2 separate regions of the Homo sapiens genome follow, and region 1 is linked to region 2. Evidence: promoter capture Hi-C in human tissues and cell types (Jung and others, 2019). All regions are on one chromosome and are shown on one strand. The core of a region is centred on a gene start or on the middle of the fragment in contact, and the rest is flanking DNA. Distances in the headings are between cores, read along the strand shown. Region 1 has its middle 12 kb from the start of PPIAP59. Region 2 holds the start of KLK7 (kallikrein related peptidase 7).

Region 1 (5,370 bases), core at 696-3,195, 45 kb before region 2:
TGCCCGGCCTCTCTTCTTTTCATCACGGTTGTAGCAATTGTTCCACAAGTGTATTACCTTTACAACTGTTAAAGAAACTAGAAACTATCCAAATGTCTCCTCATAGTAAAAAAATGGCTCAATAAATCGGAGTACATTTACACAATGGTATACTGTGCAACGATGAGAATAAAACATTTACAACCATAAACAAAAACCTGGGCGGACCACACAATATATAATACTGAGAAAAAAAAAAGCCCAACACAAAATAATATAAGACACTCATTGCTTTTTTTGTTTGTTTGTTTTTTTGTTTTTTTAGACAAAGTCTCACTCTGTCACCAGGCTGGAGAGCAGTGGCACGATCTCAGCTCACTGCAACCTCTGCCTCCCAGGTTCAAGCAATTCTCCTGCCTCAGCCTCCCAAGTAGCTGGGATTACAGGTGCATGCCTCCATGTCCGGCTAATTTTTGTATTTTTAGTAGAGACGGGGTTTCACCATGCTGGCCAGGATGGTCTCGATCTCTTGACCTCGTGATCCACTCGGCTCAGCCTCCCAAATGATTTATTTATATAAACTTATTATACTTCTATATGTCTATGTAAATAAATTTATATTTATATGTTGTTCATAAATGGGACAAATTAATTTATGGTGATAGAAGTCACAAAAGTTGCTACACTTGGGGAGAAGTCATGAAAGTCGCTACCCTTGCAGGCGAGGGATTTAGGTAGTAATGGAAGCGGCTACATTTGGCAGGGGAGGTAGTGACTGCAAGGAAGACCCCACTGGTTTTTCTGAGGAGATGCTTAGGTTCCGTGGCTCTGTCTGAATGCTGGTTACAAGGGTGTGTTCTGTTTTGTGAAACTTCACTGCCATTTATGATACTTCTGTGCATGTTTCTTTCTTTCTCCTTTCTTTCTTTCTTTCTTTCTTTCTTTCTTTCTTTCTTTCTTTCTTTCTTTCTTTCTTTTTTTGTTTCTTGAGACAGTCTCATTCTGTCATCTAGGCTGGAGTGCAATGGCGTGATCTTGGCTCACTGCAATCTCCACCTCCCAGGTTCAAGCGATTCTCTTGCCTCAGCCTCCCGAGTAGCTGGGATTACAGGTGCCCACCACCGAGCCCGGCTAATTTTTGTATTTTTAGTAGAGACAGGGTTTCGCCACATTGGCCATGCTGGTTTCGAACTCCTGACCTCAGGTAATCCACCCGCCTCGGCCTCCCAAAGTGCTGGGATTACAGGTGTGAGCCACCATGCCCGGCCCTGTGCATTATCTTTCAATAAAAGTTAATTTAAAATATTGCTGCAAGGGCATCTATGGGGCAGACATCATTGGTTGTTCCTCCCGTTCTTTGATGTCGGAATCCTGATTTCTCTCAAGGAGCAGCTTCTACATGCTTTAGGGGAGGTCCTCCACTCCATCGTGAAAGAATAATCCTGTTTGGTTCAAATCAACCATGTTAACCTCTCCACCCCACTCCCCACCCCACCCCACCAGTCTGTGACTGGTTTAGGAAAGGACATGTGACCCAATTCTGGCCAGTAAGAATAAGATAAAATTCTGCTGGGGTGGTTTCTGGAAAAGCATCATCCTTCTCAAAGACAGACCCACTACGGGTGTTGATCTTAAGGATGATGACCCCCCGCCGAGGAGAACCAAGCGAAACACAGCCTGACGCCCTGTGTCTGGAGCTGCCCTTACCTGGATTTCTTGATATGTGAAATTAAAACTTATTTACTATTGAAGCCAGCATGAATCTTCTCTTGTTCCTCAAAGCAGCTTAACCGGAAACATCATTTTGGAAAATGTGCTCAAGACTGCCCCTTAGCTAGGATTCTGCTCCTATCTAGATTTTTTTAAGATTAAGAAAAAAAAAATTGAGGCCAGATGGCTCACGCCTGTAATCCCAGCACTTTGGGAGGCTGAGGTAGGCAGATCACCTGAGGTCAGGAGTTCGAGACCAGTGTGGCCAACATAGCGAAACCCTGTCTCTACTAAAAATACAAAAATTAGCCAGGCATGGTGGCTCACACCTATAGTCCCAGCTACTCAGGAGGCTGAGGCATGGGGATTGCTTGAACTGGGGAGGTGGAAGTTGCAGTGAGCCGAGAATACGCTACTGCACTCCAGCCTGGGTGACAGAGTGAGACTCTGTCTAAAGAAAAACAAAAACAAAAAACAAACATTGAATTACAACTGTCACCCAGTACTATTTGCCCCTATTTTCACACCACACCACACACCCTGGCAGCCCAGTCTTTCTGGAATGTCCCCTAAAAAGTCGTGAGGACTTGTAAATGGCTAGGCACAAAGGGGAAGATAAAGGTGACAATTATTGGATCATTTTGATGTATGTGTCCTTCTCTCACACCTTTGACTGTTCATCAGGCAGACACTTCTTATCTCTTCTTCCTTGCTGGTAAGGACTGCACCCGTGACAGAGAAATGTCAGAAACTCACTTTCTCAGCTTCTCTTGAAGCTAGAGTGTCAGCATTGGGACCTTCTCCAATGAGTGGTCATTGAGACCCAAGAACAGATCCAGGGGTGTGGGGGGACTCTGGAAAAGACTTTCTTTCCTAATGAAGAGAGCTCTGCCAACAGAGTCTCTCCTTCCTGCCTTTTGTCATGGTGCGTGAGGATGTGATGTCTGGAGCTGTGGCAGCCATTTTACAGCCACGAGATTACAAGCCTAAAGGAGAAAGCTGACATATTTTCTTCTTCCTGCTAGAACATAAGCTTAAGGAAGGCAGGGGTTTGGTGTCTGTTTTATTAATCAGTCTATCCCAAGTGTCTATAATATTACTTGGCTCTCATAGGTGCTCATGAGTTGAATAAATATATGAATGAATGAATGCAGAGGGCAGTAGAGAAGAAAGATGGGTCCCTAATGATGTAATGTAGGAATCACCAAACCACAGTACTTCCCTCTTTTGGGGCTTCTTATTATGTGAAATAATACACGTCCTTATTGCTTAACCCACTTTGAGTTGGGTATTTTGTTACTGACAAAATTTTCTAGTGTAATTCCTTTTCTAGAGTGTTCAATTTCCAAAGTATTCCCTGGAGTGACTTTCTATAACCACCTGTGAGTATCTTGAGAAATCTTAGAGCTGGATTGGCACGTGGAGATCATTACGTTTCAATCCTCCCATTTTACAGGTAGAGAAACTGAGGTCCAGAAAAAGTACAAATGACCTTTACACAGGTCACTCAGAAAGTGCTGAAGACTAGAATGTCCATGTGTTGATGTGTTGTCCATTTCAATGACTACCACGCCCACAACCTTCTTAGGGGCCCTGCCCTGCCCACTGCTATGGATGAAGGGGTGGCTGGGGGATCCATGTTGCACTCTGTGGGCCCACCTTTCAGACTAGAGATAGAGTCTGCATCTGACCCTAGGACAGCCAACCAGATTTTTTCTCTAGGGGCTATGAACAAAGAAAACCCAGTAACTGGAGCCAGTTATGGGGGAGAGAAGAGATGCTTTGATAGGCAACAGGCAGTCAATGTAATGAGAAAACAGAGGTGGGATGAGAAGAAAGAGACCGTGAAAGACACATACCTAGGGGAGAAGGGATAGAGATCCCACAGGCAGCTGCTTCTGCCCTGACATTTTCCAATTTAAATTAATGGATATTCTTTTGATAACTGATATGGCCTGGCCCTGTGTCCCCACCCAAATCTCATCTTGGATTTTAATTTGAATCATAATCCCCACGTGTTGGGGGTGGGATCTCATGGGAGGTGATTAGATCATGGGGACAGTCCCCCCATGCTATTCTTGTGATAGTAGTGAGTTCTCACAAGATCTGATGGTTTTATAATTTTCCCCCTTCAGTTTGCCCTTCTCCTTTCGGCCACCCTGTGAAGAAGGACATGTTTGGTTCCCCTTCTACCATGATCGTAAGTTTTCTGAGGCCTCCCCAGCCATGCTGAACTATGAGTCAATCAAACCTCTTTCCTTTATAAATTACCCAGTCTTAGGTAGTATCTTTGCAGCAACTTGAGAATGGACTAATACAATAACCTACCTCCCGTTTCTACCCTGGCCAACAAGCAGCTCCAGTTTGTTCTCCACAAAGAGCCAGAATGTTCTCCTTTGTGCATGAACCAGATCCGGCTGGAAAACCTCCAATGACTTCCCAAATTCTCAGAGAAAACAAACAAGTGTCCAGCTCTATGGGTCTTCTTTCAGCTCCTGGAGAATGTCCAGCATGCTCCAATCTCAGCACTTGGCACTTGACCTCCTCTCTGTCTGGAACATCAGTGCCCCAGATGTTCATGGGGCTGGCCACTTTCTTTCTTTTTTTTTTTTTTTTTGAGATGGAGTCTCCTTCCATCACCCAGGCTGAAGTGCAGTGGCGCAATCTCGGCTCACTGCAACTTCTGCCTCCCAGGTTCCAGTGATTCTCCTGCCTCAGCCTCCCAAGTAGCTGGGATTACAGGTGTGCAACACCACGCCCAGCTAGTTTTTGTATTTTTAGTAGAGACAGGGTTTCACCATGTTGGCCAGGCTGGTCTTGAACTCCTGACCTCAAGTAACCACCTACCTCAGCCTCCCAAAGTGCTGGGGTTATAGGCATGAGCCACTGCGCCCTGCCTGGGGCTGGCCACTCTATCCTCTCAGTCTCAAATGGTACCTCCTCGGCGAGGCCCTTTGTGTTTGTTACAGTGGCTACTGTAACAAATCACTGAGAGTCTAGTTGCTTAAAACAACACAGATTTATTCTATTGTAGTTTGGGAGGTCAGAAGTCCTAAAGATCTCACTGGGCAGAAATCAAGGTGGTCGGCAGGGCTGGTTCCTTCTGGAGGCTCTAGGGGAGGGTCCATTCCCATGTCCTCCTGCCTTCCAGAGGTTGCCCATATTCCTTGGCTCATGCCCCTTCCTTCACCTTCATCATCATCATCATTATTATTATTATTATTATTATTATTATTACTATTGTTAGAGATTGGGTCTTGTTCTGTTGCTCAGGCTGGAGTGCAGTGATCCTCCTACTTCAGTCTCCCGAGTAGCTGGGACTGTAGGCACACACCACTACACCTGGCAAATTAAAAAACATTTTTTTTTTTTTTAGAGATGGGGTCTCCCTATGTTGCCCAGGCTGGTCTTGAACTCTTGGCCTCAAGCCATGCCCCTGCCTTGGCCTCCCAAAGTGCTGGGATTACAGGCGTGAGCCACCATGCTCATCTTCCTCTGTCTTCAAAGCCAGCAGCATAGCATCTTCCAGTCTCTCATTCTGATCTTTCCGCCTCCCTCTTATAAGGACCCTTCTGATTATATTGGGTCCACCCAGATAATCCAGGATCATCTCCCCATCTCAAGACCCTTAATCACATCAGCAAAGCCCCCTTGCTATAGAAGGTAACATATTCACAGGCT
Region 2 (5,846 bases), core at 2,979-5,478:
GGCCGGGCTTGGTACCCAGTCACTCGGGTCAAGCTCTGTCCCTGGGGCATGCAGACAGGGTACCCAGGACTGGGGAGGAATTGGGGGGGAGGGTCTCACATTGCAGGCGTTTTTCTTGGAGTCGGGGATGCCAGCGCACAGCATGGAATTTTCCAGTAAGTCCTTGTAAACCTTCGTGCAGTCCTGGGGGGAGATGAGCTTGACATCCACGCACATGAGGTCAGAGGGAAAGGTCACTGCAGGGAGGAGCAGGGAGAGCTGTCAGTCAGAGAGGATGGGGGCGAGGACCAGAAGGGCTGTTGTTCAGGCTCCTGGTTCCGAGGGAGGAGGGTCTGGGGCCCAGGACTGCTGGGTCTGAGGGAGGAGGGGCTGGGGTCTGGACTCCCGGGTCTGAGGGAGGAGGGGCTGGGGGCCTGGACTCCTGGGTCTGAGGGAGGAGGGGCTGAGGCCTGGACTCCTGGGTCTGAGGGAGGAGGGGCTGGGGGCCTGGACTCCTGGGTCTGAGGGAGGAGGGCTGGGGCCTGCACTCCTGGGTCACTGAGGCCACCTACCATCTGGGCTCGTGGTAGTGCCCCAGCCGGAGACAGTACAGGTGGTTCCAGGGGGTTCGCAGCGGGAGGGCAGCCTGACTTTCTTCACCATGGATGACAGCCTGGCCTGGCTATTGAGCTTCACGAGCATGAGGTCATTAACATGGGTCTGTGTGGAGTAGCCGGGGTGGCGGAATGACTTCGAGGCCTTGATCCTCTGAGCTCTCCTGTCGCCCAGCGTATCACTGCCCAGGTGCACGGTGTACTCACTGCGAGGAGTGACATTCACAGATTCAGAAGAGACACTGTGACAGAGAGGGTGTGCAAAGACCTGGGGGACGGGGTGGGGACAGAGACCCAGAGAGAGGAGGGGGGACAGAGACACAGAGAGAGGAGGGGAGACAGAGACCCAGAGAGAGGGGAACAGAGATCCAGAGAGAGAGGGGGACAGAGCCCCAGAGAGAGGGAGACAGAGACCCAGAGAGGGGGGGACAGAGACCCAGAGAGAGGAGGGGGGAGAGAGACACAGAGATAGGAGGGGGGACAGAGACACAGAGAGAGGAGGGGGGAGAGAGACACAGAGAGAGGAGAGGGGACAGAGACCCAGAGAGAGGGGAACAGAGACCCAGAGAGAGAGGGGGACAGAGATCCAGAGAGAGAGGGACAGAGACCCAGAGAGAGAGGGACAGAGACCCAGAGAGAGGGGAACAGAGACCAGAGAGAGAGGGGGACAGAGCCCCAGAGAGAGGAAGACAGAGAGCCAGGGAGAGAGGGGGACAGAGCCCCAGGGAGAGGGGGACAGAGATCCAGAGAGAGAGGAGGGGGAACAGAGACCAGAGAGAGAGGGGAACAGAGACCCAGAGAGAGAGGGACAGAGACCCACAGAGAGAGGAGGGGGAACAGAGACCAGAGAGAGAGGGTGACAGAGACCCAGAGAGAGAGGGTGACAGAGACCCAGAGAGAGAGGGACAGAGACCAGAGAGAGAGGAGGGGGAACAGAGACCAGAGAGAGAGGGGGACAGAGACCCAGAGAGAGAGGGACAGAGACCCAGAAAGAGAGGAGGGGGAACAGAGACCCGGAGAGAGAAGGGGACAGAGACACAGAGGGGAACAGAGATCCAGAGAGAAAGGCAGACAGAGACCCAGAGAGAGGGGGACAGAGCCCCAGGGAGAGGGGGTACAGAGGCCCAGGGAGAGGGGGACAGAGATCCAGAGAGAGAGGGGGACAGAGACCAGAGAGAGAGGGACAGAGACCCAGAGAGAGAGGAGGGGGAACAGAGACCTAGAGAGAATGGGGGACAGAGACACAGAGAGAGGGGAACAGAGATCCAGAGAGAGGGGGACAGAGACCCAGAGAGAGGGAGACAGAGAGCCAGGGAGAGAGGGGGACAGAGCCCCAGGGAGAGGGGGTACAGAGGCCCAGAGAGAGGAGGACAGAGACCCAGAGAGAGGAGAATAGAGCCGTAGGCACAGAAAGACTGCCCTTCCACCCCCATAGCGAGCTGGAGACGCTGGTGCACCTCCAGCAGAGACTTGGGCGGCACCTACTTCATCTTGCAGTGGGCGGCAGTGAGCACCCAGCGCTCATTGACCAGGACGCCTCCGCAGTGGAGCTGATTGCCACTGAGCAGGGCCACCTGCCATGGGTGGGAGCCTCTTGCACATGGGGCGCCATCAATAATCTTGTCACCCTGGGCTGGATGGAGACATGGAGGAGCACGTGGGTAGCTAGCATTAGGGGAAGGCTGAGGCTGCACCTCAGGGATTCCCAGAGTCAGAGATGGACAGAGACAGATGAAAATGTGTGGAGAAATACAGAGAAAGCAAGAGATAGGGATAGAGACAGACAGAAGGAGCCCACTCAGAAACCCAGGAGGCGCATCTCATCTGGGGAACCACAGAGAGACCCTGAGCACAGGAGGCAGGGCCTGGAGGGGACAGAGACCCCCTGAGTCAGCAGAAGCAGGAAGAGCGGGGGCTTCAGCCGACAGTCTGGTCCTCCCAGGATGGAAGCTGTTTGAGGAGGGAAGGGTTCTGACTCAGGGACTCCTTGGAGAGGGTCAGTGGGGGCCCTGAGGTGAGGTCAGACTTCCCAGTCCAGCTTTCACCTTCTTCTCCTGCAGTTTCCAAGGCTAAGGATAGCAGTAAGATCTGCAGGGGCAGGAGAAGGGATCTTGCCATGGTGCCCTGCTGAGCCGCTCAGGGGCTGCCAGGCGAGGAAGGGCCTCTCCTGCTGGAGCTGAGAAGGAGAAAGCATTCAGGCCCAGCCCCTCCCCACTCAGACCCAGGGGTCCAGGCCCCAGCCCCTCCCCCCACAGACCCAGGAGTCCAGGCCCCAGCCCCTCCTCCCTCAGACCCAGGGGTCCAGGCCCCAGCCCCTCCTCCCTCAGACCTAGGGGTCCAGAACCCCAGCCCCTCCTCCCTCAGACCCAGAAATTCCTTTCTCTGGCCTCTCCTTCCTTACACTCAGAAGTCCAGACCCCTAACCTCCTCCTCCCTCATACCCAAGAGTCCAGACCCTAGCACCTTCCTCCCTCAGACCCAGGAGTCCAGGCCCCCAGCCCCTCCTCCCTCAGACCTAGGAGTCCAGGCCCCCAGCTCCTCCTCCCTCAGACCTAGGAGTCCAGGTCCAAGTCCCTCCTCCCTCAGGCTCAGGAGTCCAGGCCCCAACCCCTCCTCCCTCAGACCCAGGAGTCCAGGCCCCCAGCCCCGCCTCCCTCAGACCTAGGAGTCCAGGCCCCCAGCTCCTCCTCCCTCAGACCTAGGAGTCCAGGTCCAAGTCCCTCCTCCCTCAGGCTCAGGAGTCCAGGCCCCAACCCCTCCTCCCTCAGACCCAGGAGTCCAGGCCCCAGCCCCTCCTCCCTCAGACCCAGGAGTCCAGGCCCCCAGCTCCTCCTCCCTCAGACCCAGGAGTCCAGGTCCCAGTCCCTCCTCCCTCAGACCTAGGAGTCCAGGTCTCAGTCCCTCCTCCCTCAGGCCCAGGAGTCCAGGCCCCAGCCCCTCCTCCCTCAGACCCAGGAGTCCAGGCCCCAGCCCCTCCTCCCTCAGACCCAGGAGTCCAGGCCCCAGCCCCTCCTCCCTCAGACCCAGGAGTCCAGGCCCCAGCCCCTCCTCCCTCAGACCCAGGAGTCCAGGCCCCAGCCCCTCCTCCCTCAGACCCAGGAGTCCAGGCCCCAGCTCCTCCTCCCTCAGACCTAGGAGTCCAGGTCCCAGCCCCTCCTCCCTCAGACCCAGGAGTCCAGGCCCCCAGCCCCTCCTCCCTCAGACCCAGGAGTCGAGACCCCCAGCCCCTCCTCCCTCAGACCCAGGAGTCCAGGCCCCCAGGCCCTCCTCCCTCAGACCCAGGAGTCCAGAACCCCAGCCCCTCCTCCCTCAGACCCAAAATTCCTGTTCTTCAGATCCCTAGAGACCCAGGAATCTAGGCTCCGATCTTGCCCTTCCCTGTGGAACCCAAACTTCTGACTCTGTAGTTCGTTTTTCCCTAAAAGGCCCCAAATTGCAGACTTCCAGGCCCTCACTGCTCAGGACCGGGAGTCTAGGCTGCAGCCCCTACCTCTCGAGAGCAGAGTCAGGCTTGGAGCCAGCATCACCCTCTCCCCTACAGGTGCACCCTTGATGAAGCCTCTTCTCACCTCGAGAGGATCTGATGTGATCCAAGTTCCGACTTGGGCTGGCACACAGCTGGGCTCCAAAATCTTCATCCCTCTGCTGGGCCGTCCTCTTATATCACCCCCCGCCCCATGCCCGGCCCCAGCGCCCTGGGGTGCAGGCGGAGCCGACTCTGGGACACCCCCGCCTGCATTTGCGGTTCTGGTTATCTGGAACCCTGACGCAGCGAGAGCAATTGGCACCACTGCACTCTCTCTCCACCCTCCCTCCGAAGGACGGGCGGTGCCCAGCTCCTGCGCCCCCGCACATTCTGGTCCCACAGTCCCTCCTGGCTGCTCTCGGGGGAGGGACCCGGTGCGCTGGGTCTGAGGGGCAGGAGCGGGATTCAAGCAGTCGCTGAGCTCAGAGAATAGGCTCTGGCTCGGGTCCTTCTCTGGGGCGGTTTTCTTTCTTTCTTCCCTCCTCCCTCCCTCCCTTCCTTTCTTTTTTTTGGATGGAGTCTCTCTCTATCGCCAGGCTGGAGTGCGGTGGCGCGATCTCGGCTCACTGCCAGCTCCGCCTCCCAGGTTCAAGTGATTCTCCTGCCTCAGCCTCCCGAGTACCTGGGATTACAGGCACGCACCACCACTCCCAGCTAATTTTTGTATTTTTAGTAGAGACCGGGTTTCACTATGTTGGCCAGAATGGTCTCGATCTCCTGACCTCATGATGTGCCCGCCTCGGCCCCGCAAAGTGCTGGGATTACAGGCGTGAGCCACTGCGCCCGGCTTCTGGGGCCATTTTCTTGCCCTCACCCCCTCTCAGGGGTGGCCTAGACCCTACATCCTAATTCTGGCCCGCCTGGGGGAACTTGTCCAAGCTGATCCCAGTCGTGCCTGTAATTACGCCTGAACCCATTCCCAACTCTAACAGAGAGGTGTAAGTTAAAAACAACGCTTTCCCTAACCCCACCCCACTAATATTTGCCATGTTTAGGATCTATGTTCTTATGGTCATTTTAATCATGTTATACATAGATTTCTTTGTATATTATGTATTTATAACAAAAATGTCTGTACTTAACATTATCTAATAGAACATTTTTGAGGGCTTCATTTATTAATTTATAAGCAAATATTTATTTTTCTTTTTTTAACTTTTCAGTTCGGGGGTACATGTGCAGGATGTGCAGGTTTGTTGCGTAGGTGAACGTGCGCCATGGGGGTTTGTTATACAGATTATTTAATCACCCAGGTATTAAGCCTAGTACCCATTAGTTATTTTTTTCTGATCCTCTCCTTCCTCCCACTCTCCACCCTCTCATAAGCCCCAGTGTGTGTACCCAAAGGAATATAAATCATTCTGTTTAAAGACACATGGACACGTACGTTCATTGTAGAACTATTGACAACAGCAAACACAGGGAATCAACCTAAATGTCCATCAGTGATAGACTGGATTAAGAAAATGTGGTACGTATACACAATTGAATACTACGTAGCCATAAAAAAGAACACGATCATGTCCTTTGTAGGGACGTGAATGGAGCTGGAGGCCATTACCCTTACAAACTAAAGCAGGAACAGAAAACCAGATATGGCATGTTCCTACTTACAAGTGGTAGCTAAATGATGAGACTGCATGGACACATAGAGGAGAGAAGAATCTTTCTTATTTTTTTTTTTTTTTGATGGACTCTGGCTCTGTCACCCAGGCTGGAGTGCAATG

The links. The method cuts DNA at HindIII sites, captures the fragments that hold promoters and counts their contacts. A contact is called where the count stands out against the background at its distance.
Region 1: a fragment that was not itself captured here is called in contact with the fragment with the promoter of KLK7 in region 2 in 5 of the 25 tissues and cell types used here (lymphoblastoid cells, neural progenitor cells, pancreas and 2 more).

The regions. Positions count from the first base shown.
Region 1 is chr19:50,936,874-50,942,243 of GRCh38, forward strand. No RefSeq gene overlaps it. Among named protein-coding and RNA genes, the nearest start is that of PPIAP59, 12 kb to the left of the region's middle. RefSeq lists a silencer at 2,165-2,328. The HindIII fragment of the contact is 8,084 bases long and covers 1-5,370 here.
Region 2 is chr19:50,979,689-50,985,534 of GRCh38, forward strand. It overlaps KLK7 (kallikrein related peptidase 7), which reads right to left and starts at 4,229. Exons shown (of 6, transcript NM_005046.4): 1 at 4,163-4,229; 2 at 2,639-2,769; 3 at 2,079-2,226; 4 at 552-799; 5 at 100-236. The coding sequence starts at 2,711. RefSeq lists an enhancer at 3,964-4,518. The HindIII fragment of the contact is 14,004 bases long and covers 1-4,414 here.